Regions from separate parts of the Homo sapiens genome. Here regions 1, 2, 3, 5 and 6 are each linked to region 4. Evidence: promoter capture Hi-C in 16 types of primary human blood cells and fetal thymus (Javierre and others, 2016). All regions are on one chromosome and are shown on one strand. The core of a region is centred on a gene start or on the middle of the fragment in contact, and the rest is flanking DNA. Distances in the headings are between cores, read along the strand shown. Region 1 overlaps RASGEF1A (RasGEF domain family member 1A). Region 2 overlaps RET (ret proto-oncogene). Region 3 has its middle 52 kb from the start of CSGALNACT2. Region 4 holds the start of FXYD4 (FXYD domain containing ion transport regulator 4). Region 5 overlaps CSGALNACT2 (chondroitin sulfate N-acetylgalactosaminyltransferase 2). Region 6 overlaps RASGEF1A (RasGEF domain family member 1A).

The links. The method cuts DNA at HindIII sites, captures the fragments that hold promoters and counts their contacts. A CHiCAGO score of 5 or more calls a contact.
Region 1: a fragment that was not itself captured here is called in contact with the fragment with the promoter of FXYD4 in region 4 in 2 of 17 cell types (neutrophils and naive CD8 T cells); the score reaches 6.0 in neutrophils.
Region 2: a fragment that was not itself captured here is called in contact with the fragment with the promoter of FXYD4 in region 4 in 1 of 17 cell types (fetal thymus); the score reaches 5.4 in fetal thymus.
Region 3: a fragment that was not itself captured here is called in contact with the fragment with the promoter of FXYD4 in region 4 in 3 of 17 cell types (neutrophils, naive CD8 T cells and monocytes); the score reaches 10.4 in neutrophils.
Region 5: a contact is called between a fragment that was not itself captured here and the fragment with the promoter of FXYD4 in region 4, in 1 of 17 cell types (neutrophils). The highest score is 9.2, in neutrophils.
Region 6: a fragment that was not itself captured here is called in contact with the fragment with the promoter of FXYD4 in region 4 in 4 of 17 cell types (total CD8 T cells, non-activated CD4 T cells, naive CD8 T cells and 1 more); the score reaches 7.6 in total CD8 T cells.

What each region holds. Positions count from the first base shown.
Region 1 is chr10:43,218,910-43,223,860 of GRCh38, forward strand. All of the region lies in intron 1 of RASGEF1A (RasGEF domain family member 1A), which reads right to left. Among named protein-coding and RNA genes, the nearest start is that of RASGEF1A, 46 kb to the right of the region's middle. The HindIII fragment of the contact is 4,714 bases long and covers 1-4,641 here.
Region 2 is chr10:43,128,096-43,132,928 of GRCh38, forward strand. RET (ret proto-oncogene) reads left to right here. Exons shown (of 20, transcript NM_020975.6): 20 at 17-2,256. The coding sequence ends at 174. Among named protein-coding and RNA genes, the nearest start is that of CSGALNACT2-DT, 7.9 kb to the right of the region's middle. RefSeq lists enhancers at 2,239-2,839, 2,840-3,440. The HindIII fragment of the contact is 4,128 bases long and covers 1,384-4,833 here.
Region 3 is chr10:43,188,325-43,192,974 of GRCh38, forward strand. No RefSeq gene overlaps it. Among named protein-coding and RNA genes, the nearest start is that of CSGALNACT2, 52 kb to the left of the region's middle. RefSeq lists a silencer at 2,891-3,120. The HindIII fragment of the contact is 3,019 bases long and covers 1,610-4,628 here.
Region 4 is chr10:43,369,353-43,373,702 of GRCh38, forward strand. It overlaps FXYD4 (FXYD domain containing ion transport regulator 4), which reads left to right and starts at 2,284. Exons shown (of 9, transcript NM_173160.3): 1 at 2,284-2,345; 2 at 3,375-3,420; 3 at 4,163-4,350. The HindIII fragment of the contact is 9,288 bases long and covers 1-4,350 here.
Region 5 is chr10:43,153,681-43,158,654 of GRCh38, forward strand. It overlaps CSGALNACT2 (chondroitin sulfate N-acetylgalactosaminyltransferase 2), which reads left to right. Exons shown (of 8, transcript NM_018590.5): 2 at 1,217-2,130. The coding sequence starts at 1,470. Among named protein-coding and RNA genes, the nearest start is that of CSGALNACT2, 18 kb to the left of the region's middle. The HindIII fragment of the contact is 6,189 bases long and covers 548-4,974 here.
Region 6 is chr10:43,237,148-43,241,462 of GRCh38, forward strand. The region is part of intron 1 of RASGEF1A (RasGEF domain family member 1A); the gene reads right to left. Among named protein-coding and RNA genes, the nearest start is that of RASGEF1A, 28 kb to the right of the region's middle. The HindIII fragment of the contact is 215 bases long and covers 2,556-2,770 here.

The DNA.
Region 1 (4,951 bases), core at 1,035-3,534, 150 kb before region 4:
CTGAAGGAATCTGGTCGTCTCCTCTTCACGCTCCTCAGATTCTGCCCAGTCTGGGTTTCTGCCTCTCCCTTTTCCCTTTCTGTCCAGTCAGCTTCTTCTGGGCCTGCTCAGGGCATAGAACATCATTGTCCACCAAGAACCATTCCATTCTTGAGACTCAAGAGGCCCAAGGATGCAGCAGGTGGGACTTCAGAGAATCCCTGCCCTTTCCCGGCAGGCGCTGGCAGCCTGGCCTCCCACTCCAGCCGCCTGGGGAGCCCTGCTCCCCCCTCCCCTTGGCCTCGCTCCCTCTTCGGCCAACGCCATCAGATTCTGCAGGGGTAACGAGAGCCTCCTGTAGATGGGTGGGCAGCCCTGTGCCTCCCAGGGACAGAGCTGGGCACAGGCTTGGATGGGGTCATGTGCAAACTCACGCAACCTTGGTAGCCAGTTCTGTCCTTTCCAGGGAGACCCCTAGGGTGCCACGGAGGAGGGGGCTGGGAAGCAGTGTGCAGATTCCACCCCAAGTGAAATCACCCCTCTGGGGTCCCTGTCCTAGATGGGTTGTCCACTGATGATGACAGGACAGAGCAGGGTGTCCTGCTGCTCATCAGTTCTGGGCAGTGGCCAGGGCGCCTGCTGGCTCCAGTAGGAAGGCACCAGCAATCTGTCCTGCCCAGGCCCACCCGGGCACACTGCCCACATCCAGCCAGCCCTGGAGTCAGCCCCGAAGCAGCAGCCCATGACCAAGAGAGAGGGACAGTGAGCGGGCAGGGTCAGGGCTGAGGGCCTCCAGAGGCAGGAAGGGATGGCCAGCCGCGTAGGCCACACACAGACCTGTCCCGGGTGAGCTGCACCTCCGCCCTCTACAGCCACCTAGGGTGCTGGGATATGGAATAAAAGACATATGGTTCTTTTACTTTTAAATGATAACTAATTACGCTGAGCAAAGATTTTTCCTTTGTGTTCCAAAACAAATAAAAATCCATTTCCCTCACTTGAATTGTCCTCCTGGCAGATGGCTGTGGGAGCAGGGAGCTCTCTCTGGGCCAGTCATGGGGGTAGGGGAAGGGGGCACCCAGCCCCCTGCTGGGTCACAGAGCCATGGGCATGCTCAGTCTGGCAGCCTCTGGGAAACAGCACCCAGACACACGTCCTGACTGCCACCCCCATGCCGTGGACACAGGCAGCTCTTCTGTCACATGCTGTGCGTCTGTCCCCTGGCCCTGGGGGCTGGTAACCGGTGGTTAGACACTGACCAGCCCCAAGAGTACCAGTGCACAGGAATGTGTAATAATGTGTTGTGGTCCTTAGGGTCTCAAAATAAACGGCCAGGCACAATGGCTCACACCTGTAATCCTGGCACTTTAGGAAGCCGAGGTGGAGGATCGCTTGAGCCCAGGAGTTCAAGACCAGCCTGGGCAACATAGGGAGATCCCTGTCTCTACAGAAAAATTAGCCAGGGGCAGTGGCATACACCTGTAATCCCAGCTACTCAGGAGGCTGAGGTAGGGGGATTGCTTGAGCCCAGGAGGTAAAGGATGCAGTGTGCCAAGATCATACCACTGCATCCCTGGGTGACAGAGCCTGGGCAACAGAGCAAGACCCTATCTCACCGGGTGTGGTGGCTCACTCCTGTAATCTCAACACGATGGGAGGCCAAGGCAGGCAGATCACTTGAGGTCAGGAGTTCAAGACCAGCCCGACCAACATGGTGAAACCCCATCTCTATTAAAAGTACAAAAAATTAGCCAGGCACGGTGGTGCACACCTGTAATCTCAGCTACTCCAGAGGCTGAGGCATGAGAATTGCTTGAACCTGGGAGGTGGACGTTGCAGTGAGCTGAGATCACGCCACTGCACTCCAGCCTGTGTGACAGAACAAGACTCTGTCTTAAAAAAAAAAAAGGGGGGGGAGTACTTATGACAAGTAACTCAGCTTAGAGTGAAGTTGCTGAGCCCTCAGAGTGATTAGCATAGGTGTGGTGGACTGCAATGATCAGATGATATCTGCTGTGGCCAGGCATCCCTGAGACCCAACAAGAAAGTGATGTCAAAAGGCACCTGAAGATGATGGCCAGGGACACTCCTGCGGAGGGCCATAAATACAAAGAAGCTGCTCATGACCAAGACACCTGCAGAAGCACTGCCCTCGAGAACTCCGAAGCCTCTTTTCCATTGGAGGCCACCAGACGCCCTGCTGGGAGAAGAGGAGTGATCCCATCCCTCCACCCGGGGGTCTGCGGTCCCTCTGCTCTGAAGGAACTTGGACCCTGGGCAATCAGCAGCTGGTCTCCCCATCCCCCGACACTGTGGTTCGCTCCCGCCTCTCTTATGACTGCCTGGGTGTGTGGAATATATTTGCATGATTGTTGGGGTGTGAAAACGTCCCAATAAACCATGAATTTGTAAGCATTTAATTGGCTGCTGAGTCATCCTGAAACCTCCCCACATCAGTTAGTGCCACCAGGCTGATTCGAACCTAAGCCAGACACAGCCGTCTCCATGCCTCCCCAGGGTGGCCCTCCTGCTGCTCCCCCCTTCTCCAGATGAAGGAACAGAGGCCCAAAGGGCCTCAGTCACCAGCGCCAGTCTGGGAAACTGGTGGAGCTGGGATTGGAACCCTGTCTGATGTGCTACCCAGGGCAACCAGCACAGGGCTCCGGAGAAGGAGAATGGTGTGAGGTGACAGCAGGGGGAGCCAGCCAGGCCTGTGGGATGGACAGGGCCTGACCCAGGAGGAGCTGCCCCTGCTGCATTTGCAGGTTAGGCTGCAAGCGCAGGGCAGCGAGGTGGGGTGGGGGAAATCAGGCCAGGGTCCAAGGGGCCCGTGCTGCATTCTAGCCCCTGCAAAACTGCCCACAAGCCTCACCACCAATGAGTGGCGTAGGCAGAGGGCCTCCCACCTGCTGGGCCCTGTGACACCATCTGGGGGCCTCTGAGGCCCTGCTCTCCACTTCCCAGATGAGATACAGGTGTGGGGCTGAGGACAGGGCACAGCTGGAAGCCGCCCAGGCCTCCTGCCTGCAAGTTGGCCCTTCCTGTCCGTGTGGCCCGGGCACATACAGTCATGCGTCCATTCGCGACGGGGATACCTCCTGAGAAATGCATCTTAGGCGATTTCGTCGTTGTGCAAACCCCAGAGTGACTTACACAGACCAGGATGGCACAGCCCACTACACACCCAGGCTCCGTGGTACAGCCTATTGCTCCCGGGATCCCAACCTGCACAGTGTGTGACTGCACTGAATATACTGGAGGCAACTGTAACACAACGGTAAGGATTTCTACAGCTAAACATAGAAAAAGCACAGTGACAATATCATATTATGAATCTCAGGGGACCACTATGTGGTGCATGACGCTGTCTTTTTTCCCAGCACACCCTCCTAACACTCTCAGAATCTCCAAAGTGGTAAGTGTCTTCTGTGTGCTGATGGACTTCTGGACAGCCTGGCTGGGGGCTGGTTGTCAGGGGAACCAACCATGTGATGAAAGGGTGGGGACTTTCACTCCCACCCCCAGCTCTAGGGACAAGAGAGAGGCTGAAGGTTGGGTCCATCACCAATGGCCAATGATTCAGTCAGTCACACCCACATAATGAAGCCTCCACAAAATCCCAAAAGGAGCGGCTTCAGAGCTTCTGCGTAGGCAAGCAGGTGGAGGGCCCTGGAGTGCAGTGCCTGGGAGGACAGGGAAGCTCCACGCCCCTTCTCACATGCCTTGCCCTGAGCATCCCTTCCTCTTACTGTTCATCTGTGACCACTGTAAAAACCTGCATAGTAAGTGGGTAAATGGAAGCAAGTGCTTCCCTGAATTATGTGAGCTGCTCTAGCAAATTAATTGAATCTGAGAAAGGAGTCCCAGGAGTGGTGATTTGCTGGGTGGGTCAGAAGCACAGGCCACAACCTGAGACTTGCAAATGGCATCTGAAGTCGAGGGAGGGGGACAGCCTTGTGGGACCAAGCTCTCAACCTGTGAGATCTGACTTCGCCTCCAATATTGTCCAAATTGAATTACAGGGCACCCAGCTGCTGTCTTAATGTTAGAGAATCTGGTATTAGAATGTTGTGCTAAATGGCTGAGAGTGGAGAGTAAGAAAAACACTTTATTGGTTTTTTTTTTATAACCCTATTAGAGGTAAACTCCCAAGAACACAAAGCTATGCCCAGGAAACACAGTGAGCACCTCTTCATGCTAGATTCACAACCAGAAATTGCCCAGCAAGTGGTAGATGCCCAAGGGATGAAAATATTGCAGTGCATGCTCTCTGGACAGGGGACCAAGATATGTGAAAAACTGTGTCTAGAAACAGAAAGGCACATTCTACTGTCCAGAGTCTCTGCCACATGGTCGTATGTTATACCACCAATGAAACCCAGTAAAGTCCCCAAATAGAAGTGTGCAGGTGAGAGAATGACATAAGCACAATGTACTATAGTTGGATATTAATATATAACTGATAAACAAAATACCCACTTCATAAAAAAAATCCCTAAATCACACCTGTGTTAAAGATTCAAATTCCAATTACAGATGTCAGAAAAATAACCTTTATAGGAAAACTCTGTATCGAATTTGATATGGCCAAAGCTGTACTCACAGAAAAGTTCATAGACTTCAATAATGTATTGAAGTAAACACTAAGCACTTGATTCAAAAAGCTTAAAAAAGAGCTTCTCAACAAAACAGTGAAACAAACTGGAAGAAGAAACTACTAAAAAGCAAATTAGATGACTTAATCAAAGAATAGAGTAGAACTCCTTATAAACTTCAAGAGCTGATTCTTTGAAAACACAGATTTCAAGGATAACCCTCTTGCAATTCTAATCAACAAAAGGAAAGAAGAAAGGGAGGGAGGGCCAGGCACCCTGGATCATGCCTGTAATCCCAGCACTTTGGGGGGCTCTAGTGAGAACCTGTCTCTATTTCTTTAAAAAAATTATAAAAATTTATTTTAAAAAAGAAAGGG
Region 2 (4,833 bases), core at 2,198-4,697, 240 kb before region 4:
CTGTTTTCATTTTTAGGCATGTCAGACCCGAACTGGCCTGGAGAGAGTCCTGTACCACTCACGAGAGCTGATGGCACTAACACTGGGTTTCCAAGATATCCAAATGATAGTGTATATGCTAACTGGATGCTTTCACCCTCAGCGGCAAAATTAATGGACACGTTTGATAGTTAACATTTCTTTGTGAAAGGTAATGGACTCACAAGGGGAAGAAACATGCTGAGAATGGAAAGTCTACCGGCCCTTTCTTTGTGAACGTCACATTGGCCGAGCCGTGTTCAGTTCCCAGGTGGCAGACTCGTTTTTGGTAGTTTGTTTTAACTTCCAAGGTGGTTTTACTTCTGATAGCCGGTGATTTTCCCTCCTAGCAGACATGCCACACCGGGTAAGAGCTCTGAGTCTTAGTGGTTAAGCATTCCTTTCTCTTCAGTGCCCAGCAGCACCCAGTGTTGGTCTGTGTCCATCAGTGACCACCAACATTCTGTGTTCACATGTGTGGGTCCAACACTTACTACCTGGTGTATGAAATTGGACCTGAACTGTTGGATTTTTCTAGTTGCCGCCAAACAAGGCAAAAAAATTTAAACATGAAGCACACACACAAAAAAGGCAGTAGGAAAAATGCTGGCCCTGATGACCTGTCCTTATTCAGAATGAGAGACTGCGGGGGGGGCCTGGGGGTAGTGTCAATGCCCCTCCAGGGCTGGAGGGGAAGAGGGGCCCCGAGGATGGGCCTGGGCTCAGCATTCGAGATCTTGAGAATGATTTTTTTTAAATCATGCAACCTTTCCTTAGGAAGACATTTGGTTTTCATCATGATTAAGATGATTCCTAGATTTAGCACAATGGAGAGATTCCATGCCATCTTTACTATGTGGATGGTGGTATCAGGGAAGAGGGCTCACAAGACACATTTGTCCCCCGGGCCCACCACATCATCCTCACGTGTTCGGTACTGAGCAGCCACTACCCCTGATGAGAACAGTATGAAGAAAGGGGGCTGTTGGAGTCCCAGAATTGCTGACAGCAGAGGCTTTGCTGCTGTGAATCCCACCTGCCACCAGCCTGCAGCACACCCCACAGCCAAGTAGAGGCGAAAGCAGTGGCTCATCCTACCTGTTAGGAGCAGGTAGGGCTTGTACTCACTTTAATTTGAATCTTATCAACTTACTCATAAAGGGACAGGCTAGCTAGCTGTGTTAGAAGTAGCAATGACAATGACCAAGGACTGCTACACCTCTGATTACAATTCTGATGTGAAAAAGATGGTGTTTGGCTCTTATAGAGCCTGTGTGAAAGGCCCATGGATCAGCTCTTCCTGTGTTTGTAATTTAATGCTGCTACAAGATGTTTCTGTTTCTTAGATTCTGACCATGACTCATAAGCTTCTTGTCATTCTTCATTGCTTGTTTGTGGTCACAGATGCACAACACTCCTCCAGTCTTGTGGGGGCAGCTTTTGGGAAGTCTCAGCAGCTCTTCTGGCTGTGTTGTCAGCACTGTAACTTCGCAGAAAAGAGTCGGATTACCAAAACACTGCCTGCTCTTCAGACTTAAAGCACTGATAGGACTTAAAATAGTCTCATTCAAATACTGTATTTTATATAGGCATTTCACAAAAACAGCAAAATTGTGGCATTTTGTGAGGCCAAGGCTTGGATGCGTGTGTAATAGAGCCTTGTGGTGTGTGCGCACACACCCAGAGGGAGAGTTTGAAAAATGCTTATTGGACACGTAACCTGGCTCTAATTTGGGCTGTTTTTCAGATACACTGTGATAAGTTCTTTTACAAATATCTATAGACATGGTAAACTTTTGGTTTTCAGATATGCTTAATGATAGTCTTACTAAATGCAGAAATAAGAATAAACTTTCTCAAATTATTAAAAATGCCTACACAGTAAGTGTGAATTGCTGCAACAGGTTTGTTCTCAGGAGGGTAAGAACTCCAGGTCTAAACAGCTGACCCAGTGATGGGGAATTTATCCTTGACCAATTTATCCTTGACCAATAACCTAATTGTCTATTCCTGAGTTATAAAAGTCCCCATCCTTATTAGCTCTACTGGAATTTTCATACACGTAAATGCAGAAGTTACTAAGTATTAAGTATTACTGAGTATTAAGTAGTAATCTGTCAGTTATTAAAATTTGTAAAATCTATTTATGAAAGGTCATTAAACCAGATCATGTTCCTTTTTTTGTAATCAAGGTGACTAAGAAAATCAGTTGTGTAAATAAAATCATGTATCATAAAATGTGTAAACTTTTTTTCTTTTTAACATTCTAGTTGGAAACAACAGATTTCTGATTTTGTAGTTTCCATACAATATTTAAAACATCACAAAGAATTCTATCATGATAACCACTGAGGCATCAATAGTGGTCGAGGACTAGGGGCTCTGGAGATATCGCTGGCTTATCTGGTACATTTGCGTGTGAATAGGCACATTGATAGAAACTGAAAAACTCAGCTAACTCCACTGTTCAAGGAATCCCTTCCTTAAAAGTGTCCATCCCTAGAACAAAGCAGCAGCCAGTGTCAAGTTTAGGTCTTCACAGTTCTCTAGCAATTTGCTTGTTGCTGATCTTTTGAAGTTGGCCTTAGAGCTGTGGGAGACAGAATACAAAATGCCAAGTCCTGAGGAAGGCCATTAGAAGTGTGAGGGAAAATGCTGTCCTGAACCACCATGAAGCCTGACATACTCACTACTTCTGTTTATGTCTTCCCCGAGGAATTCTCTGAGCTTCTCATGCCGGGCGTGGAGCTGATGGGTCAGTGGGCAAACGGGAGTTGTTGTCAACATCAGTCTCATCTGCGATTGCATTGTGTCAGATGCCAACGGCCTGTGTCACACACATACACGTGTGTATACGTGGGCCTTTGCACGCCTCGCCAGGTGGTGTACATGCAGGCCTTGGCACGCCTCGCCCAGTGCCCGCCCCAGGCCCATGAGGCCCCGCTTCCCAGCCGTGGGTGTCTGTGTCTGCTCACGGCTTCCTCCTTCAGCCTGGACCACGGGCTGGAAGTGAACGTAATCTCCAGAGCCAGCTGTTTGCTGTAGCCTTTACCTCTGAAAGTAGAAATCTACGCCAAGAAAAGTTAATGCTAAAAGCCACCCCTAATGTAGACTCTACATTAGGACTATTTGTGTGTGTATGTTTGCTGTTTTATTTTCCCCTAAAAACACATTTTCTGCCAACCTTCACGAAGGATTTCTTCCCACCACGAGGCCAGCTTATGTGGGCAGAAATCTAGTTGAATGTGCCTGAGAACAGGGCTTGAACAAATACTTCATACACAAAAGAAATTTTGAAGGGAAAGCATAATTTCTAACATATAAAGAAAGCCTCTCCCGCAGGCAGGTGGAGCAGTTAGCGGTGCCTCTCTCTGCCTCGGGTGCGTTCACGCATAGTGTCTGGCACACCTTGTTTTATTGCTCTTTGCTTTATTGCGTTTTTCACAAATTGAAGTTTTGTGGCAACGCTGAGTCGTCGAGAAAGTCTATCAGGGCCATTCTTCCAACAGCCCACACTCACTTCATGTCTCTCTATCAGTACTGTTAAGCAGTAAAGAATCTTTAAACCAAGGTATGTACATTGTTTTTTAGACATAGTTCTGTCACACACTTAACAGACTCCAGTACAGTGTAAAGTGTAACTTTTATATGCACTGGGAAACCAAGAGACTTGTGTGGCTCACTTATTTGGGATCTTCAATCTTCTTTGCTTTACCGGAGTGGTCTGGAACAGTATCTCTGAGGTTCGCCTGTGTTTAGTGGTCCTCACAACTGGGGGGTGGTTCTAGGAAGTCCTAGGGAATCCTAACCTCTGTGGCCCTGAAAAAGCAGAAAGGTGGGTCTTCAGGGTGCATGCAGCAGTGTGCGTGGCCCCACACGTCTTCCACATGAAGATGCTCCAGGTGCAAGTCCTAGGCTTGTGCGCCTGCAGGGAAAGCACCCTCTCTGCCAGGGCTCCTGCTGTGGCCCTGTCCCTTCTCCATGGCAGCAGCCTTGACCGAAACTGTGTAGAGTCTCCCACCTCTTCAGGGAGCTGGGACTCAGGAAGGATCATCTTAGCTGAGGTCATAAGAACCTGCATGTAGAGAACTTTTCAGCGTGGGGCCACTACTGTGTCCTGCTGCTGAGGCCAGGTAGTGGCCGTCTGAGGGCTGCAAGGGCAGGCTGCTCCCAGGAGTTAAGGAGGCAAACACTCTGAACACCCTGGAGAAATCACAGTTTATCTTTGCAACTACAAATTTGAGTGCTGTGTCAAGTGACCAGGTATTTTTGCAGATGTCTCTGAGGTGTTAAATCACAGGACCTGGCCAAGCAAGATCTCTCAGCTGGACCCCGGGCAGGGGATCCTTTATGGGGGCACATCTCACTGTGGGGGCTGCAGAAATGTGAAGGTCATCATGGAGGGAGCTTGCGGTCTGAAACTACCCCAGCCACTGTGACTACCACACTGGGAGAGATCATAGACCTGCATCCTCTCAGATGACACTGAGCAGTTCAAGCTAAAAATGTGCTGGTAAGCAAGGTAAGTGAATTCTAAAGCTAAAAAAAATCATTTTTCATTTTCTGAGAAGGAAACAAGTTTGATATTTCATACACAGACAATATTTACCATGCAGACTGTCAATTTCTTGAATAAAAATATGAAATTCATTTAAAACATTCAAGTTTTTGTGTATTTTTCTCAATGTATTAACAGAAGAGCAACCTGTTTCTTGGCTGCTCGATTGTCTCACCTGCACATCAATCCTTTTCTATACTCTCCCATGGAAGAAGGGGTCTCCAGGGGCAAGAGACTTTGGTCAGAGGACTGCAGGG
Region 3 (4,650 bases), core at 1,869-4,368, 180 kb before region 4:
GTGAATATCTGGGACACATTTTCCACTCACCTTGTTCTTAAAGATCGTTATGGCTATCATAGGCTTTGTACTTTCATATAAATTTTAGAATACGCTTATTAGGTTTCATAAAAATGTATGAATTTGATTAGAATATCATTGAATCTGTAAGATCACTTTGGGGAGTCTTTATGATATGAAGTCTCCCAATCTATTCTATTTGGCTTTATTGTTTTTCAATTACATTTTATAATTTTTCACACTGTGGACTTACACATGCTGTTTTTCAGATTCTTCATAGTTACTCTGCATTTTTGATACCATTGTACCTTATCTTTTATTGTGTTACTGGTGTTTAGAAATCATTGATTTTGCATGTTAATTTTTGTGTTCAGAAACTTTGCCAAAAACTGTTAATTCTAGTAATTAGAATTCTTTTGCATTTTTCTTGTTTTACATCATATCATACATATGAATAGTGAGTTTTGTTTCCTTTCCATTTTTAGGTCTTTAGTTCTTTTTCTTGTCCTCCTATGCTTGGTAGGATTTGTTGTGCAATGCTGATGGAAGTGGTAATAGTGGGCTCCCTGCCCTGTTTCTGATTTCAAGCAGTGCTTTCAGGGTTTCATCAGTAAGTGTGATGTTTGCTGGAGGTGTTTTCGTAGACAACCCTGTCAACTTAAGAAACTTCCCTTCTGTTATTACTTAGTGAGTTTTTATCCTACCTAAGAGCATTTATCAGATACTTTTACTACATCTGTTGAGATGTTCATATACTTTTTCCCCTCTTTTAAAGTATTAAATTGATGAATTAATAGATTTTCTCAAGTAGCTTTGCATTCTTGGGACAAATGCCAGTCAGTCATGATGTGTTATTTTTATTTTACATTGTTTGATTTGGTTTGCTTTCATATACATACATGTAAGTATTCACATTTACACATCTCATATGTATTCATGTCGGGGGTGTGGGTATGTATATACTTCAGGTGTTTTTAATCTATGTTCATGAATGAGATTGCCTATGACTTCCCGTTCTCTTCCTTGTTGGGCATTTTTGTTTATTTATTTGTTGTTTTAATTGACGGGATCTTGCTCTGTCTCCAAGGCTGGAGTGCAGTGGGGGCGATCATGGCTCACTGCAGCCTCAACCTCCTGGGCTTAAGTGATCCCCCTACCTCAGCCTCCCAAGTAGCTGGGACCACAGGCACACACCCCTGCACCTGACTCATTTTTGTTGTTGTTGTTTTTGTTTGTTTGTGTGTAGAGACGGGGTCTTGGTTTGTTGTCCAGGCTGGTCTCAAGCTCCTGGTTTCAAGTGATCTTCCCACCTTGGCCTCCCAAAGTGCAGAGATTACAGGTGTGAGCCACCATGCCTGGCCCTCATTAGGCTTTTCTGTTGAGGTTATACTAGCTTATAAACTTAAGTTACAAGTGTTCCTTCTTACTCTGTTTCTAGAAAAGTTTTGTAAAATTAGAATTAATTTCTTCCTTGAATATTGAACTGCCTGGAAGAACGGCCTGAAAGCCACTTGGGCATGAACTTTTCTATCTAGGAAGATTTTTGATCAGTTGTTCAATTTATTTAATAATTATAGAACTATTCAGACTTTCTATTGTTTGTAGAATAAGCTTTCATTGAGTTATTTTGGGTAAATCATAATTTTCTAGGAATTTATACTGATAAATTTGAAAATTCAGATGAAATCAATATCCTCCTATTATCTGTGTGATATGTATACGATTTATAGTGATATCCTTTTTTTCTCATTCCTGATATACTTATGCCTTCTATTTTTTCTTGATCAGCTTTGCCAGGAGCAGGCAGATTTTTTTCAATCCTTTTAAATAACCCTTACCAGCCATGTATGAGAGATCAGTTGCTTTACCTCCTCCCCGACACAGTATTTCCAGTGTTTTTAATTTAAACTCTTTAATTATAATTTCTAGTGGGTGTGTACAGTTCTTATTTTCATCTTAGTTTATAATCAGGGAATGATGTCAAGTACCTTATCATATGCTTATTGGCCATTTAGATATCTTCTTTTGTGAAATGCCTGTTGAAGTTTTTCTGCCTTTTTTAAAAAAAATTAGTTTGATTTTTTTTTTAGTTGATTTGTGGGGGTTACTTCTGTATTCTGAATTTGAGTCCTTTGTCAGATTTACATATTACACATACCTTCTCCTAGCAACAGCCTCTCTTTCACTATGTTAATGGTATCTGTCAGTAAACAAAAGTTCTTAATTTCAATAAAAACCAATTTTCTTTTATGGTTAGTGATTTTGGTGTCCAATTTAAGAACCTTTCCTACTCCAGAATTTTTTTTAATTCTTTTTTTGACACCTCATTGCATTGCCTTTCATATTTAGGTCTGTGATCCATCTGGAAATCGTTTTGTATATGGGTTACAGGAAGAGTCAAGATCCATCCTTTAGTTTTTCTTTTAGGGAAGGTCTGTGGATAGCAAACGCCATTTAGTTTGTCTGTAAATATCTTTATTATCTCTCATTTAATAAATAGTTTTAAAAAGTAGAGAATTCTAAATTGGCTATCATTCTTCTTTTTAGCACAATGAAGTTACTATTCCACTGTCTCTTGGCTTCAGTTATTTCTGCTGTGAATCATCAGCGTAACAGCCATCATCCATTGAAAGCAGTCCACTCTCTTCTTTTCTGTTCTGTGTCACTATGATACATCTGCATGTGGGTTTGTTTTTTTTCTGGTCCTGCTTGAGATTCTTCGGGTTCCTTGGATTGTTACTCTGAAAAATTCTCAGCTGTTTTATTTTCAAAAATGATTCCTGCCTCATTGTCTCTTTGCTTCTCTAACTCTGATAACATGTTAAAACCGTTGTGTCCTCCATGCCTCAACCTGTTTCTTGTTTTCCAATGCTTTATTCTGTGTTAGATTCTGTTAATTTCTTCAGAATTATGATCAGATTTGGAAAATAACCAAATAGAGCATCTAGAAATGAAAACTACAATAATTGAATTTTTTAAATCCAGCAGATGGGTTGAACAAAATTAGACACAGCTAAGGAGGTTTTTTTTTTTTTTTTTTGAGGAGGAGTCTCGCTCTGTCGCCCAGGCTGGAGTGCAGTGGCGCCATCTCTGCTCACTGCAAGCTCCGCCTCCCGAGTTCACGCCATTCTCCTGCCTCAGCCTCCCGAATAGCTGGGACTACAGGCACCCGCCACCACGTCCGGCTAATTTTTTGTATTTTTAGTAGAGACGGGGTTTCACCATGTTAGCCAGGATGGTCTTGATCTCCTGAACTCATGATCCGCCCGCCTCGGCCTCCCAAATCCTCCCAAAGGATTACAGGCGTGAGCCACCGCGCCAGGCCCTAAGGAGGTATTTTTTTAAAAACTGGAATATAAGTCAGAATGTTTGTTTCTACTGGATGTTTAGGGGCAGTACCAGTTCAGGGCCAGTTCAAAGAATTCTTAGCTTGAAGTTTGTTGGACCAGTGTTGATTTGTGCTGCAAAATTTTGTGAAGCTCACTGACTCATCATTATCAATTATGAAGGTAAAATTTCCCTGCCTCCATTCAGTGCTGAGATTCAAATCAGGGAGCTTTTCCTAGGTCCCTCGGTGGGGTTTGGGTGGAGCGCCTTATTTCAAGCTCACTGCTGCACCGAGGGGTGGCTCTTTGGGATGCCAGCTTTATGGGCTGGGGTCTCCTATTTGATTCTTCATCTTGAGGTGGGCCCTGGACTTTTTTCTCTACCCCTGTGGACTTGAAAACAGCAGCTCATGGTCCTTACCCTCAGGGCAAAGCAGGCTGCAGAGCTTCCCTGACTTCTCTGGCTCCCTGCCTTCACTTGGATTTTTAAATTTTGTACAACTTTATCTGTTGTTTTCAGTGGGCACGCACTTCATCTCTCACACTGCCAGAAATGCACAAGTGGCGCAGTTTACTTTCTTACACTCTTCCCTGCACTGTTGCTGAACCACTCAGCCCTGCTGAGCGCGCCTGAGCATCTGCACCTGAGCATCCTGGTGCTGTGGGTAGATACTTGTGGGGTGTTCAGCAGCCCCTCACCTTCCTCACAGTATCCTGACTTCCTTGTTGGGAATAAAGATTGAAATTGTGTTAACGTGGTCTAAACTGGCCTGCAGATGGATTGTAAGTTTTGCTTCTTGAAGTTTTGAATGCAAATTTGTGGGAATTCTTTCCCATTTATATTTTTATGCTGGTTGGATTGAACAGTGACTGTTAGGTGAACAGTGACATGTTAGGTGAATGCTAACATGCTTCGTATTGACCAGGACCCCAGGTGTTCCTTTGAGAAGGGGGCCTTTGCTTCACTTTTCCCAAAAGGTGCTGTGGCCTTTTGCAGAAGTGCTGCTTGGCGTCCGCAGCACCAGGGCCAGTCCATAGCAAGCACCGACTGTGCTGACAATGAACCAGGTGCCTGCTCTGTCTGCCTTTGCTTCTTAGAAGCCTTTGCTTCACTTTTCCCAAAAGGTGCTGTGGCCTTTTGCAGAAGTGCTGCTTGGCGTCCTCGGCACCAAGGCCAGTCTACAGCGAGCACTGACTGTGCTGACAATGAACCAGGTGCCTGCTCTGTCTGCTACCACGGCCCTGCAAGAGAGCCGTGATCAGATGAAAAACATGGAGGCTATAAGGTAAACAGCTTGTCCAAGCTTCTCCAGCTGGGGGCTGA
Region 4 (4,350 bases), core at 1,034-3,533:
CAGCAGCCTTGACCTCCCATGCTGAAGCGATCCTCCCACCTCTGCTGGAGTATAGGTGTGTGCCACCACGCCAGGCTGTTTGTTCTATTTTTTTTTGTAGAGATGGGGTCTCGCTATGTTGCCCAGACTGGTCTCAAACTCCTGGGCTCAAGTGATCTGCCCACCTTGGCCTCCCAGAGTGTCAGGATTTAACCCCCACACTCCACCGAGACTTTAAAACTCTGACTTCCATTCTTCTCTTTTTTTCTTTTTTAAGATGGAGTCTCGCTCTGTCGCTGAGGCTGGAGTGCGGTGGCACGATCTCAGCTTACTGCAACCTCCGCCTCCCAGGTTCAAGCGATTCTCCTGCCTCAGTTTCCCAAGTAGCTGGGACTACAGGAGCGCGCCACCACGCCCGGCTAATTTTTGTATTTTTAGTAGAGACGGGGTTTCACCTTGTTGGCCAGGCTGGTCTTGAACTCCTGATCTCATGTTCTGCCCTCCTCAGCCTCCCAAAGTGCTGGGATCACAACCGTGAGCCACCGCCCCCAGCCATGACTTCCATTCTTTACCATCCTTACTTCCTGAGCAGGCCATCCTTAACCTTTACACTTAAATAAACTCCTTTAAACTAAAATCTAACCTGTTTGACTATTGTAGATTGACAGGCTAATGAGAGTATGAACCTCCAAAGACTTCTGTGAGGGCTAGGTGCAGTCATATATGCAATGAACTCAAGTAAACAGCTGGCTGAGGAAACACCGGGACGCCTCCTCTGTGCTAAGCCCCATGCAGCATGCACACAGACACAGGCCCACCTCAGCCTCCCAAAGTGCTGGGGTTACAGGCGTGAGCCGCCTTTCCCAACCAATATTTTATATTTTTACACAAGTGACAGCATCCTATTCAGACTGCCCTATACTTTTTTTCCACTTAAAAGTATGTCTGGGCCAGACATAGTGTCTCACACCTGTAATCCCAGCATTTTGGGAGGCCGAGGCAGTGGATCGCCTGAGGTCAGGAGCTCGAGACCAGCCTGCTCAACATAGCGAAATCCCATCTCTACTAAAAATACAAAAATTAGCTGGGCACAGTGGTGTGTGCCGGTAATCCCAGCTACTCGGGAGGCTGAGACAGAATTGCTTGAACCTGGGAGGTGGAGGTTGTGGTGTGCCAAGATCGAGCCACTGCACTCCAGCTTGGGCGACAGAGCGAAATTCCAGCTCAAAAATAAATATATAAATAAACAAACAAACCAACTAAACCATCATTGCCCTCCCCAGCCCTCCCAGCCCAGAGACCCCCATCCCTTGTCAGCCATCCCCCCTTACCTTCTGGACAGGGACAAGTGTCCCTCATTTGGAAAAGAATTAAGGAGGGGTAACAGCAGACTAGGGAGGCCTGGGGTCCTCCACACGCCTGTGTGGGGTGACTTTGGCCCCCAGCAACAAGGCAGGCCTGAGGTCTGCAGAGGGAGGCAGCCCACTCCTCAGCCGGGGGCGTCTATCCTCCTCCTGGCCCCATCCCTCACCTGTGGGGGAGGCTAAGTGGGTGTCAGGGCCCTGTCAGAGGGTGAGCCACCCCCGGGGGTGCCCATCGGCCACCAGCCTCCCTTCAGTAGACACCCAGCCCAAGTGACAGCAGTGGCATGGCACTGCTGAGCACAGGGAGCCTCAAGGTCAGTGCCTGGCTCCTGGTATCCTCCGTGGTCCCCAGGACACCCCCACACAGAGGTCCCAGAACCCCCAAAGCTGGCACAAGAGCCCAGGAACACCCTGCCCAGCACCCTCCAGGTCCCTCTTTTAGGATCTGGGTGAGCTAAAGAAGCCAAAAGAAAGGCTGGGCGCGGTGGCTCACGCTTGTAATCCTAGCACTTTGGGAGGCCGAGGTGGGCGGATTGCCTGAGCTCAGGAGTTGGAGACCAGCCTGGGCAACACATTGAAACCCCATCTCTACTAAAATACAAAAAAAATTAGCCAGGTGTGGTGGCGTGCACCTGTAGTCCCAGCTACTCGGGAGCCTGAGGCAGGGGAATTGCTTGAACCCAGGAGGCAGAGGTTGCAGTGAGCTGAGATTGCATCACTGCACTCCAGCCCGGGTGACAGAGTGAGACTCCATCTCAAAAAAAGAAAAAAAAAAAAAAAAAAAAAAAAAAAAGAAGCCAAAAGAGGGTCTTCGGCCCAGCCCGCCCCTCCCCAACAGCCCTGGGTGTGGCAGGGAGCCTGACCAGTTCCCTCCAGCCTGCGTCATGGAGCCCTGGGCGTGGCTGCAGGGTTTAAAGAGCCGACCCACGTGCCCAGCAGCCTCCTCAGATCCGTTCTCTGCGCTGCCAGCTCAGGTGAGCCCTCGCCAAGGTGACCTCGCAGGTGAGCAGGCGTCCACTTTGGGGCTGCTGGGTGAAGGGGGTGGGTGCCCAAGAATTCTGAGTAATGAGGAGCCTGTTGAGGGGTCTGAGGACAGATATGGCTGCAGCAGCCGCTTGAAGGCCTCCTGCTTTGCACCCACTATCATATGGATGGTGGGTTGGGGGTTGGAGGAAACAGAAGCCAGCCCTTGGCTAAAGAATATATGAGCTGGTGGGGTATACCTCTGGTCCCAACTGCTTGAGATACTCAGGTGAGGAGATCACCTGAGCCAAGAGAGTTCAAGGCTGCAGTGAGCCGAGATCACGCCACTGCTCTCCATCCTGGGTAACAGAGCAAGACCCTGTCTCAAAAAAAAAAAAAATAGTAATAATAATAATAATAAAATAAAAAATGTGACCTAGAGTTGAGACCCTCGTATTCCAGGAACTCCAGGTTGGTGAAGGTAGAGAGACCAGTGAAGGCTGGGGGAAGCCAGCTTTGGAGACTGCTCCTAGCCCAAGAACCGATGTTCAGAAGCAGTGCCTAACAGTCTCTCCCTCCAGTGCCTCCCTCCCACTGCAGAAGGACCATGTGTTTATTTATGGATGTATTTATTTATTTATTTTGAGATGGAGTCTCCCTCTGTTGCCCAGGCTGGAGTGCAGTGCCAGGATCTCGGCTCACTGCAACCTCCACCTTCCAGGTTTAAGTGATTCTCCTGCCTCAGCTTCCCAAGTAGCTGGGAATACAGGCGCCTGTCACCACACTCAGCTAATTTTTGTATTTTTAGTATAGATGGGGTTTTGCCATGTTGGCCAGGCTGATCTTGAACTCCTGACCTCAGGTGATCCACCCGCCTCAGCCTCCCAAAGTGCTGGGATTATAGGTGTGAGCCACTGCGCCCGGCCTATGGATGTATTTATTGTAACAGGTTTTTAGTGCTTACTGTGTGCTAGGCATAGTTCTTAGGCTTGACAAATAGTAGTTCACGTAATTCCATCGCTATAACCTTATGAGGTTGCTACTATTCTGATGATCCTCCTTTTACAGGACACTGGTGAAGGAGCAGTGAGGAACCTGCAGAGTCACACAGTTGGTAAGTTGCTAAGAAGGGACCCAGCCCAGACAGCTGGCCCTGGATCTGTGATCTCATCAGGAGGCCAGAGCTGGGTACAGCAGATGATGACAATGGCTTCAGTATTGAAAACTTGACCACACTAGGCTAACAATATGCAGAGGGCTGGGAGGGGGCCTGCGCTCAAAGACTCAGCCTCCCTAAGGACAAGTAAATGGGGTCCTGGCTACTTCCAACCTGAGGGGGAAATGTCATACCACAGGAGGTCTATACTCTGAGAGCAGAATCTGGGTCTGCTGGAGTAGGGTCCCCTGCCAGGGCTGGCAGGGGAGGTCCTGGCTGCTGCAGTCATCTCATCCCAGGACTCAGCACTCCCTCCCTCCTCCACACCCTTGCTTTTGTGGAGGCTCTCTGGGAATTCAGACTGAGGGTGCTGGACTCTGGCCACCCCAGGCCCAGACCTTTGGGAACAATAGCCTGGGGCCTGATAACAATGCCCTTTGTGTGGGGTTAGGAAGGCAGGCTCCAGACCCTGACTTAGAATAGCAGCCACCTGACCCTGGGCATCTGATTACACCTCTCTAAGCTCCATTTTTTTTTTTCTTCTCTGAAATAGAGACAATAATAGTATCTTCCTCATGGGGAGGAGTAGGGGGTGGGTTTGTCGCATGGATTTTAACAACGCCTTCTACAGCACTTACTCTGTGCAGGCACAGTTTTGAGCTCTTAGCTTGTGCTTACTCAATCCACACAACTCCCCCAGGCCACCACCATCTCTAGATGGGAAGACAGAAAGTAGTTACTTTCCCAAGATCTCCCCACAAGCAAGTGTATCCTTGGGGTTTGTACACCTACTTTCACCATGGGGCTCTGCCTGCCCCCGCCCCTGCCTCCTCTCGCTGACCAATTGAGCTGTGAGCCTGGAGCAGATCCGTGGGCTGCAGACCCCCG
Region 5 (4,974 bases), core at 2,392-4,891, 210 kb before region 4:
TTACAATGGAAGTTCTCTTTGCAGTGGAGTCCTCCTTGCCTCCCTTGTCCTAAGTTAAACCTCTATTTTTAGAGTTAAGAATCATTAAAGACATGGAAGAGTTCGCACAACTGGTTGTGGCATGAACGATAGCATGTAATTTTATAAATGTATAAATGGTTTTTGAATTTTTTTCTCTGCTGATAAGGATGATTAAATTCTTCATGTTTTTTCTTTATATAGACTCCAAACCTTTCTAGACTTGTAGGAAATCTGTTGATGCATAATACAGTGGAAAGAATTATGTGATCTAATGTGCAAATAATCTACTGGAGGACATTGGATATAAAAATGTTTTCTTAATGTGTTTTTCAGATGTCTGTGAGCTTTTGAAGTTGTTCTTTCCCCCACTTAATTTTAAGTCTCCTAGATTGGCTGAGCTGAGCAGTAGAAATTAATGAGGTAGAATGCTTGAGTTGAATAAACTGGGAGAAAATCTCTCTCTCCAGTAAACCGTTATTACTGTAACAGAAACAGTTTCTATAAACTCAGTTCCCAAATGGTCATAAGCTTTAGTTGGGAAATGGTGCGGTAATTGAAATACTATGTTAATAAAGAGTTATAGGCAATATAATTTTCAAATAATTAGAGAACAGTAGAATATATGTAATACAGACTATGCTGACGTAATTTTAATGTTTCTTTGATTCAAGTTATAGCTGTGTAGACATAATAGTTAAAAGTATTATACATAGTTTATTGTTTTTTAAGGTATTTTAAAAAATTCTCCCAGGCCAGGCTCAGTGGCTCACACCTGTAATCCCAGCACTTTGGGAGGCCAAGACAGGCAGATCACCTGAGGTCAGGACCAGCCTGGCTAACATGGTGAAACCTTGTCTCTACTAAAAATACAAAAATTAGCTGGGAGTGGTAGGCAGATGCCTGTAGTCCCAGCTACTCAGGAAGCTGAGATGGAAGGATCACTTGAACCCAGGAGGCAGAGGTTGCAGTAAGCCAAGATTGTGCCACTGCATTCCAGCCTGGGTGACGGAGTGAGACTCCATCTCAAAAAAAAAAAAAAATTCTCCTAGTATTTACTGAATATTCTAAATTATATTAGTACCTCTCATAGTTCTCTGCATGTAGTAGTCACGTAGCTAAGTTTACTGAAGCCACAAACAAATTTGATATCCTTAAGGGAACAAAATTCTGATTGATTCTGATCTGTGTCTTTCAGAAAAATCACTACCAATATAATGGATTTTATATATCAGATTGCTTTATTCTGGATATCATGGTAACAATACAGAAAGTATACATAATTTCCCATTTCTGCAAGTAGTCATGACTGCTGAAGAAAGAAAAACTTAAAGCTACGGCAGAATTATTTTATGGAAATTCTGATTTTGTTTTTAATTTTTGATAACTTTTTACTAAAGGTATGAACACACAAAGAGCTTATTTTGTTAGGCAAATACACATTAATAAGAATGCCTAGAAGAGGACTGATTCTTCACACCCGGACCCACTGGTTGCTGTTGGGCCTTGCTTTGCTCTGCAGTTTGGTATTATTTATGTACCTCCTGGAATGTGCCCCCCAGACTGATGGAAATGCATCTCTTCCTGGTGTTGTTGGGGAAAATTATGGTAAAGAGTATTATCAAGCCCTCCTACAGGAACAAGAAGAACATTATCAGACCAGGGCAACCAGTCTGAAACGCCAAATTGCCCAACTAAAACAAGAATTACAAGAAATGAGTGAGAAGATGCGGTCACTGCAAGAAAGAAGGAATGTAGGGGCTAATGGCATAGGCTATCAGAGCAACAAAGAGCAAGCACCTAGTGATCTTTTAGAGTTTCTTCATTCCCAAATTGACAAAGCTGAAGTTAGCATAGGGGCCAAACTACCCAGTGAGTATGGGGTCATTCCCTTTGAAAGTTTTACCTTAATGAAAGTATTTCAATTGGAAATGGGTCTCACTCGCCATCCTGAAGAAAAGCCAGTTAGAAAAGACAAACGAGATGAATTGGTGGAAGTTATTGAAGCGGGCTTGGAGGTCATTAATAATCCTGATGAAGATGATGAACAAGAAGATGAGGAGGGTCCCCTTGGAGAGAAACTGATATTTAATGAAAATGACTTCGTAGAAGGTAATGTGAAAAATATGTTGGTCAATATTATGTTAGTAAGACAAATGCTAGTATTGTATGCTGGTATTGTATTGTAGTATTGTACTGTAGACAAATGCTAGTATTGTATTGTAGACAAATGTTAGTAATATAAGTCAGTCATTATCCACAGTATTAAAACACTGAAAGTTTTTGCACTTCATTGCACCAAGAATTTTAAGTGGCCTTCTGGAAAAAGGTATGAGATCATAATAAAAATGGAGAATAAGGACTAGGGAAATAGAATAAAACAGCTCTTGTTGCATGTGTATGATTTATATTCCTCACTTACCTGATCTTGGTGTTCTTTTTTATGTTTTTAAAAAATGTGTAAACTAAAACTCAAAACTTGAAAACCATTTGATAAAGGAAAGAAAAAATTAGTAGACTCTTAGCTATTTTTCGTATTGGAGGAAGGAGAAGCTCATGTCTGAACAAGGGGTTATACATAGTTTAAAAAGCACATTTGGCATTTGGAAAAGTAAGGAAATACCTGTTTTCCTAATACATATTTCAGAAAGGGTATGGAATTTTTATGTATCAAGATGGGATGTGACTCAGAGGTTGAAGAACACTGCTATAAAATTTAAGATATTGATTGATATTAACAGTAATAATTCTAGATCCCTACCCATCTCCTTTACACTCACTGCTAGACATTTAATTGCTGACTTAAACCATTTTAAAAATAAATGTTTCTTGAAAGTTCTCTTTGCTTGATTCTATAAACTGTGTTATCACAGTGGTCCCCAGCCTTTTTGGCACCAGGGACTGGTTTCATGGGTGACAATTTTTCCATGGGATGGTGAGGATGGTTTTGGGATGAAACTGTTCCACCTCAGATCATCTGGCATTAGTTAGATTCTCATAAAGAGCGTGCAGTGTAGATTCCTTGCATGTGCAGTTCACAACAGAGTTTGCTCTACTTTGAGAATCCAGTGCAGCCACTGATCCGACAGGAGGCGGAGCTCAGGCGGTAATGCTTGCCAGGCTCCCATCACTCACCTCTTGCTGTGCCGCCTAGTTCCCAACAAACAGGCCACGGACCAGTAGCGGTCTGTGGCCTGGGGGTTAGGGACCCCTCGTATAGCACATGTAGACTTTTTGACTCCAAATCATCATGGCCATCACTTGCTGCACTGTAGCATTATTATAATACACTGAGGCCCTTGGAGGCCATCAGGGAGGGCATTATGCTTTGCAGTGGCATTGCAGCTGCCTTTCCTTGTGGCCTCCTCTTTTTTCTGCTGTCACTTCCTGCCATTTTTGATGGATTATTTTTCTCAAAACTCTTCTGATTTTTCTGCAAGCTCAGCTTTTTGTCTTCTCACTGTATGTTTGTAGCTTATGGCAGAATTGGAAGCTGCGGAGGAAATAAGATAACTAAGTAACATGTGTAAAATGTCCTCACATCAGCTCTACCTAAAAAGAAAGGGAGCTGTGCCAGTTTTATATTCTGCAGCTCCTGCTTTTGTCTTATAACTCTCCTTGGATTCTGATACTTCAGGATTTTTCTCTAAATGGAACATATTCTGTTCCTCACTTTTCCTCTACTGTGCCACTGTCTGCCCACTGCAGGGAGAATAATTACTAATAATTAGTAATGACAACTAATTCCTATCCCTCTTCTAAACTTTAGCTCAGATATCACTTCTTCTGAGAAGTCATCTGCAACCTCAGGTCTAAGACAGCAGTACTTCTGTGTGCTCTTGTCACCTGTACATTCATACTGCTTGTCACAGTATGTGGCATTGCCCATTTCCTGGTTTGTGCTTCCTACTAAAGTGTAAGCCTCAGGAGGGTTGGGACCAAGTCTATTTTATTCACCATTTTATACCCAGATATTTACTGAGTGACTCACACATCTGTAGGTCTAACCTTCTTCTCTCTCCTGAGCGCCATACTTAAAAATCAGATTGCCACTGGGCGCAGTGGCTCACTCCTGTAATCCCAGCACTTTGGGAGGCCGAGGTGGGCAGATTATGAGGTCAAGAGATCAAGACCATCCTGGCCAACATAGTGAAACCCCGTCTCTACTAAAAATACAAAAATTAGCTGGGCGTGGTGACACACGCCTGTAGTCCCAGCTACTTGGGAGGCTGAGGCAGAAGAATTGCTTGAACCCGGGAGATGGAGGTTGCAGTGAGCCAAGATTGCACCACTGCACTCCAGCCTGGTGACAGAGTGAGACTCCGTCTAAAAAAAAAAAAAAAAAAAAAAATCAGATTGCCTCGTAGATGCGCATGCTTTTCTCTCAAAGGCATCTCAAATCACTGTGTTTAAATCTGTACCAATTTTTCTTTGACTTCACTCTAGTCAGTGATTTTATATGTATGTATGTATACACACATATATATATACAGATATATATATATATCACATAGCACTATATTGTTATTATTTGTCTATTTTTCTGTCTCCTTCACTAGACTGGCCCTGTCCTCAAAATTGAGACCATGTGGCACTCTTTGTATCACATAACTGACACGAAGGCACTCGATTTCTTTTAGTTGACCTAAACCAATAGAAATTTTGGCTCTTGGGTCTAGATTTTAATATTGCTAGAAGTAATTTCTTTATTTATCATGATTACCATATTGATAGGCTCTAGTATTTTTAAAAAGTCGTATGTAAAAAGGAACAATTGTCATTTGTAGTATATTTTATAGATTGAATAAAATAACAGAACAGTGAACTTTTTTTTTAACCTTTTCTTTTAAGCGAGTAATTGTTACTGTGCAGTGGGGATAAGTATTTTCACAAATAGGTAAAAATCCTGCAGGTCTAGTTTAATACCCTTTATGTTTAAGTGAGTAAAATCTGTCT
Region 6 (4,315 bases), core at 1,413-3,912, 130 kb before region 4:
CAGCCTAGCCTTATAGAGGATCTCAGGGCCAGTGTGGCCTTGTGAGGGGGTCTTGGGGCCAGCCTGCTCTATGGAAATTGGAGGCACCAGTCAAGGAGAGAGGCTTCTGTCTCCCTGGGTCCTTGGTTTCCACCCATCCTTGGCCAGTACCTTCACTCCTCCCCGACCCCGGAGGCTCCTAGTCTGTTCTCCTGCTTCACCTGCCCTCCAATGGAGCCCCTGGCCATCATGGGCCCAGGCCCCGGAGCTGATCCCTGACCCCACTGTTGTGCCCCTAACTCCCACTCTCCCCCTCCTCCCCTCCCCTCCCCCCCACCTCCATTTCCCCTCAGCCTCTGCCCTCTCCAGACCACAGACACAGTCCTCCTGACCCCGGCTCCTCCTGAGCTGCCTCCCAACCTCTCTTTTCTTCTTACCTACATTTCTAGAAAGAGCAGCTGCATCTGCTATTTTGCAGCCAATTCTGCCTCCTCCCTCCAGTCCCTGCTGTGCTCATCAGAGGCACCAGGCTAACGCACGGCGTGGGTTCCAACCAAGCCCAGGCCTGAACGCACTCATGCCAGGATGCCTAGCTGGCTCCGCTCTCCCCAAACTCAGCTGCTACTCCTCAGGGATCCCACGACACCCAGCCCCATAGAAGTCCCAGGGACCATCCCAGCATGGCCCCAGCACATAGACCACAGAGCTTCTCTGCCTGAATGTCCCAGGACCGCCATGTGATGTCTCCTCTCCCACAGGGAATAGAGCCCTGTCCTGCAGACACTCAGGCACAGGCAAACAGAGACCCAGCCATTGTACCTGTGGGCGGGGATCTGGGCTCAGCACAGCCCACCTGCCCATCAGGGGAGTGGGCCACACAGGCCAAGGCGGCCAGGCCTGACGCAGGTGTGCCTGAGACCCGCCTTCAGGAGGATTAGCCATCATAGATTGAGACCCGCCTTTGGGGGGCGGAGGGAGGGGGGGTGCTGCAGATTGAGACCTGCCTTCAGGAGGGTTTGCCATCACAGAGTAACACCTGCCCCTCAGGAGGGTTAGCCATGTCGACTTAAAGGGGTCTTCAGGGGAGTTAGCCGTGGCTAGTTTATGTGTGCCTACAGGAGGGTTAGCCGCCGCAGATTGAGACCTGCCTTCGGGGGTGTTGTATCGCAGATTGAGACCTGTCTTCAGGAGGGTTAGCCATCGCAGAGTCAGACCTGCCTTCAGCAGGGTTAGCCATCGCAGATTGTCTGGTTTCCTACCCTTGAGCTGCTCAGTGTACTTCACCGAACTGCAGTACTTTAGATAGCTCTACTACTACCGTTTTTGACAGTTTACTTATATTTCATTTAAGTTTAGTGGGGGAAAGCCTGGGTTCCCCAGCCTCCTTGTTCACTGCCCCAGCCCCATGTCCACATACACTCCTGCAACTCTGCAAAGACACCAGGGTGCTGTGAGGGTCCCGTGGGTTTCCCCAGGTCCTCTTTTGGCAGGTCCCTATAACATGTTGCAGGGCAGGGGAGAGGCTGTCTGTGATGGGCAGGGCCCCTGACTGCCATTCGGGCAAGTGGGGATACTGAGGGACCCTGAAAGATATCAGGGTCAGGCTGGTAGGGCATGTGGGCAGCAATGCATCTCAGGGAGTCCTGCCCCCTCTTCCATGGGAAGGGCCCACAGCTGCCATCCCCATGAGCCAGAGAGGATGACACTCTAGGCTGGTGGAAAGGGACCTGATATCAAATGGAAATGAGGCAACCCACGAATACACAAGTCTGCACGTGCTTCTGTGCATGTGTCTGTTCCTAGAGCAGACACAAATGTTCCAGAAGTTTCTTTCTTAGTCATTCACAGAATCACAGGCTCTCGAAGAAGGGGTATTATTCATTCTAATCAGTGGTGCCTGGAATGATGCCCTGTAGTTTCTTTACTTGCCCCAGACACCTGCAGCTCCCTGGAGAGAGCCCCTCAGCTCCTGGCAACTCCATACGTTCTGTGGCAGCTGCAGGGTATTCCACTGGGTAGGTGGGCTGCCACACATGTAAGAGGTCCTCTAGCAAAAGACACCAAGGTGCTTTACAGTCTTTGGCAACGAAAAACACTCCTGCAATGGGCATTATTGATGAAAAGTTTTTATTCAAATGTGTGACCACATATAAAAGATGAACTCCTAATACTTGATGTGCTGGGTCAAAGGTTATGATCATTGTAAGTTTAAAGAGACATCCCAGAAGTGCTTTCAATAGAGTATAGCCAGGTAGTGAAAATGGTGGAGTAAGGACCTCCAAAAACCCTCTCTTCCATAAACGCAACAAGAAAACCAGCAAAAAACAAAAAGGTCAGAATCCACATTTTTAGAACTTCCAAAATTAACTAAACGCTTGCAGAAATCTTAGGAGGATTTATTCAAAAAACATAACTGAATCTCAGTAAGAATTGCAAATTTTATAGCACTTGAACTTGCCCTAGTCCCATCCCTGACTCTCTATCCCAAGTGCCTTGAAAAGTAGGACCCCACATTCATCATGAAAACCACTGGCGTAGCAGCCCCTGGAGGGAAAACAGCAATGGAACTCTTTCAAAGCTTCATTCTCAGAAAACTGTCATTATTTGACCTGTCCAGTAGTTCCCATGGAGACCCCACTTACAAGGATGTCTGTATTTGACCTGACTCAGAGGTCTCAAGTACAAAAATCATATTCCCCAAGGTTCATTGTCAAAAACAATTACTGGTATTTAATTTCACAAATGCCTGAAGCAGTAGATAACAGTGAAGCAAGCAATAGACTAACCAGAAAGCTTAAAAGGAAAGTTTCAGTAATGACATGATCATAGGGGTTTTGAAAAACTGCAGTGCATTCCTGAGAATCTAGAAGGTCAAGTGCATGCTCAGGGCTGTGCACATGCTCAGAAAAGTACTTGGGAAACCCTAAGCACTCACTTCTGGCTGACTTTGAGTCTCTGTGCAAGCAGGAAGAGAAGACTAAGGCAGAGTTATCAGCTGCTTAGCTGAGAGCTGAAAGCATACCCAAAGACACAGAGCCCCTTAGCGAAGACTGAGAACTTTATTGACTCCAGGCACTTATGAAAATTTCTTTCCAATCATTATTTGACCGCTAAGATAACTGAGCAGAGATTTCAGTGCCACACACAAAAGAATACAGACTTTGCAGAAGTAATCCAGAAATGTCACAAAACAAACAACCATTACTACAATAAACAGCAGCAACAACAAACCCCAAAGAGTGGGGAGAATCTGATTTCCAGAATTGACTTACTAAACAAAAACTTTCAATCAGCTACTTTAAGTATATTTTTTAAAGACTGAAGGAATTGATGTTTAAAGAACTAAAGGAAAGTATGGAAGCAATATATCAAACAGAGAATATCAATAAAGGAATACAAATTATAAAAAAGAACCAAGCAGAAATTCTGGTGTTGAAAACTAAGTAAATGAAATGAAACATAGCAAGAGGGGCTCAACAACAGGTTTGAACAGAGAGAAGAAAGAATCAGTGACTTGAAAAAACGTCCATTGAGATTATCCAGTCTGAGGCACAGAAAGAAAAAAGAAAGGAACAAATAAATAGAGCCACAGACACCATAATGGACACTATCATATGTATAAGAAGAGTCTCAGAAAAAGAGGAGAGTGAGAAATAAGGCAGAAAAAAAATATTAGAAGCAATAATGGCTAAAATTTTCTAAGTTAGATGAAAATATTCATCTCCATATCCTAAAAGTTCAACAAACTCCAGGTAGATTTCTTATCAGGAACCATGAAGGGCAGGAAGCAGTTGAGCTGACACGTTCAAAATACTGAAAGAAAAGAGGTGTCAACCATGAATTCTTTATGCAGCAAAATTGTCATTCAAATATGAAAGGGAAATTACCTGACAAATAAAATAGAGAACTCGTCAGAAGAAGACCTGCCTTATAAGAACTACTAAAGAGAGTCCTTCAGGCTGAAATAGTAGGACAATAAGCAGCAACTTGAAATCATGTGAAAAAATAAAGAGGACCATTAAAGGTAACTTTACTGGTTTTATATTTATTGCTATATATTAGTAAATATAAAAGATAGTATAAACACATTTTATGCACTTAACTCTATTTTTCTCCTATTTGAATTAAAAGACAACTGGTCTATGACCATACTACCCTGAATGTGCCTGAATTAAAAGACAACTGCATGAAACAATAATTATAAGTATAGATTGATGAGCACACAAGGTATAAAAATGTAAATTTTATGGCAGTAACAGCACAAAGGAGAGGAGAGGCAACAGAACTACAGAGGAGCAAAGTTTTTGAATACTGTTGCAATTGAGTTTGTATTAAT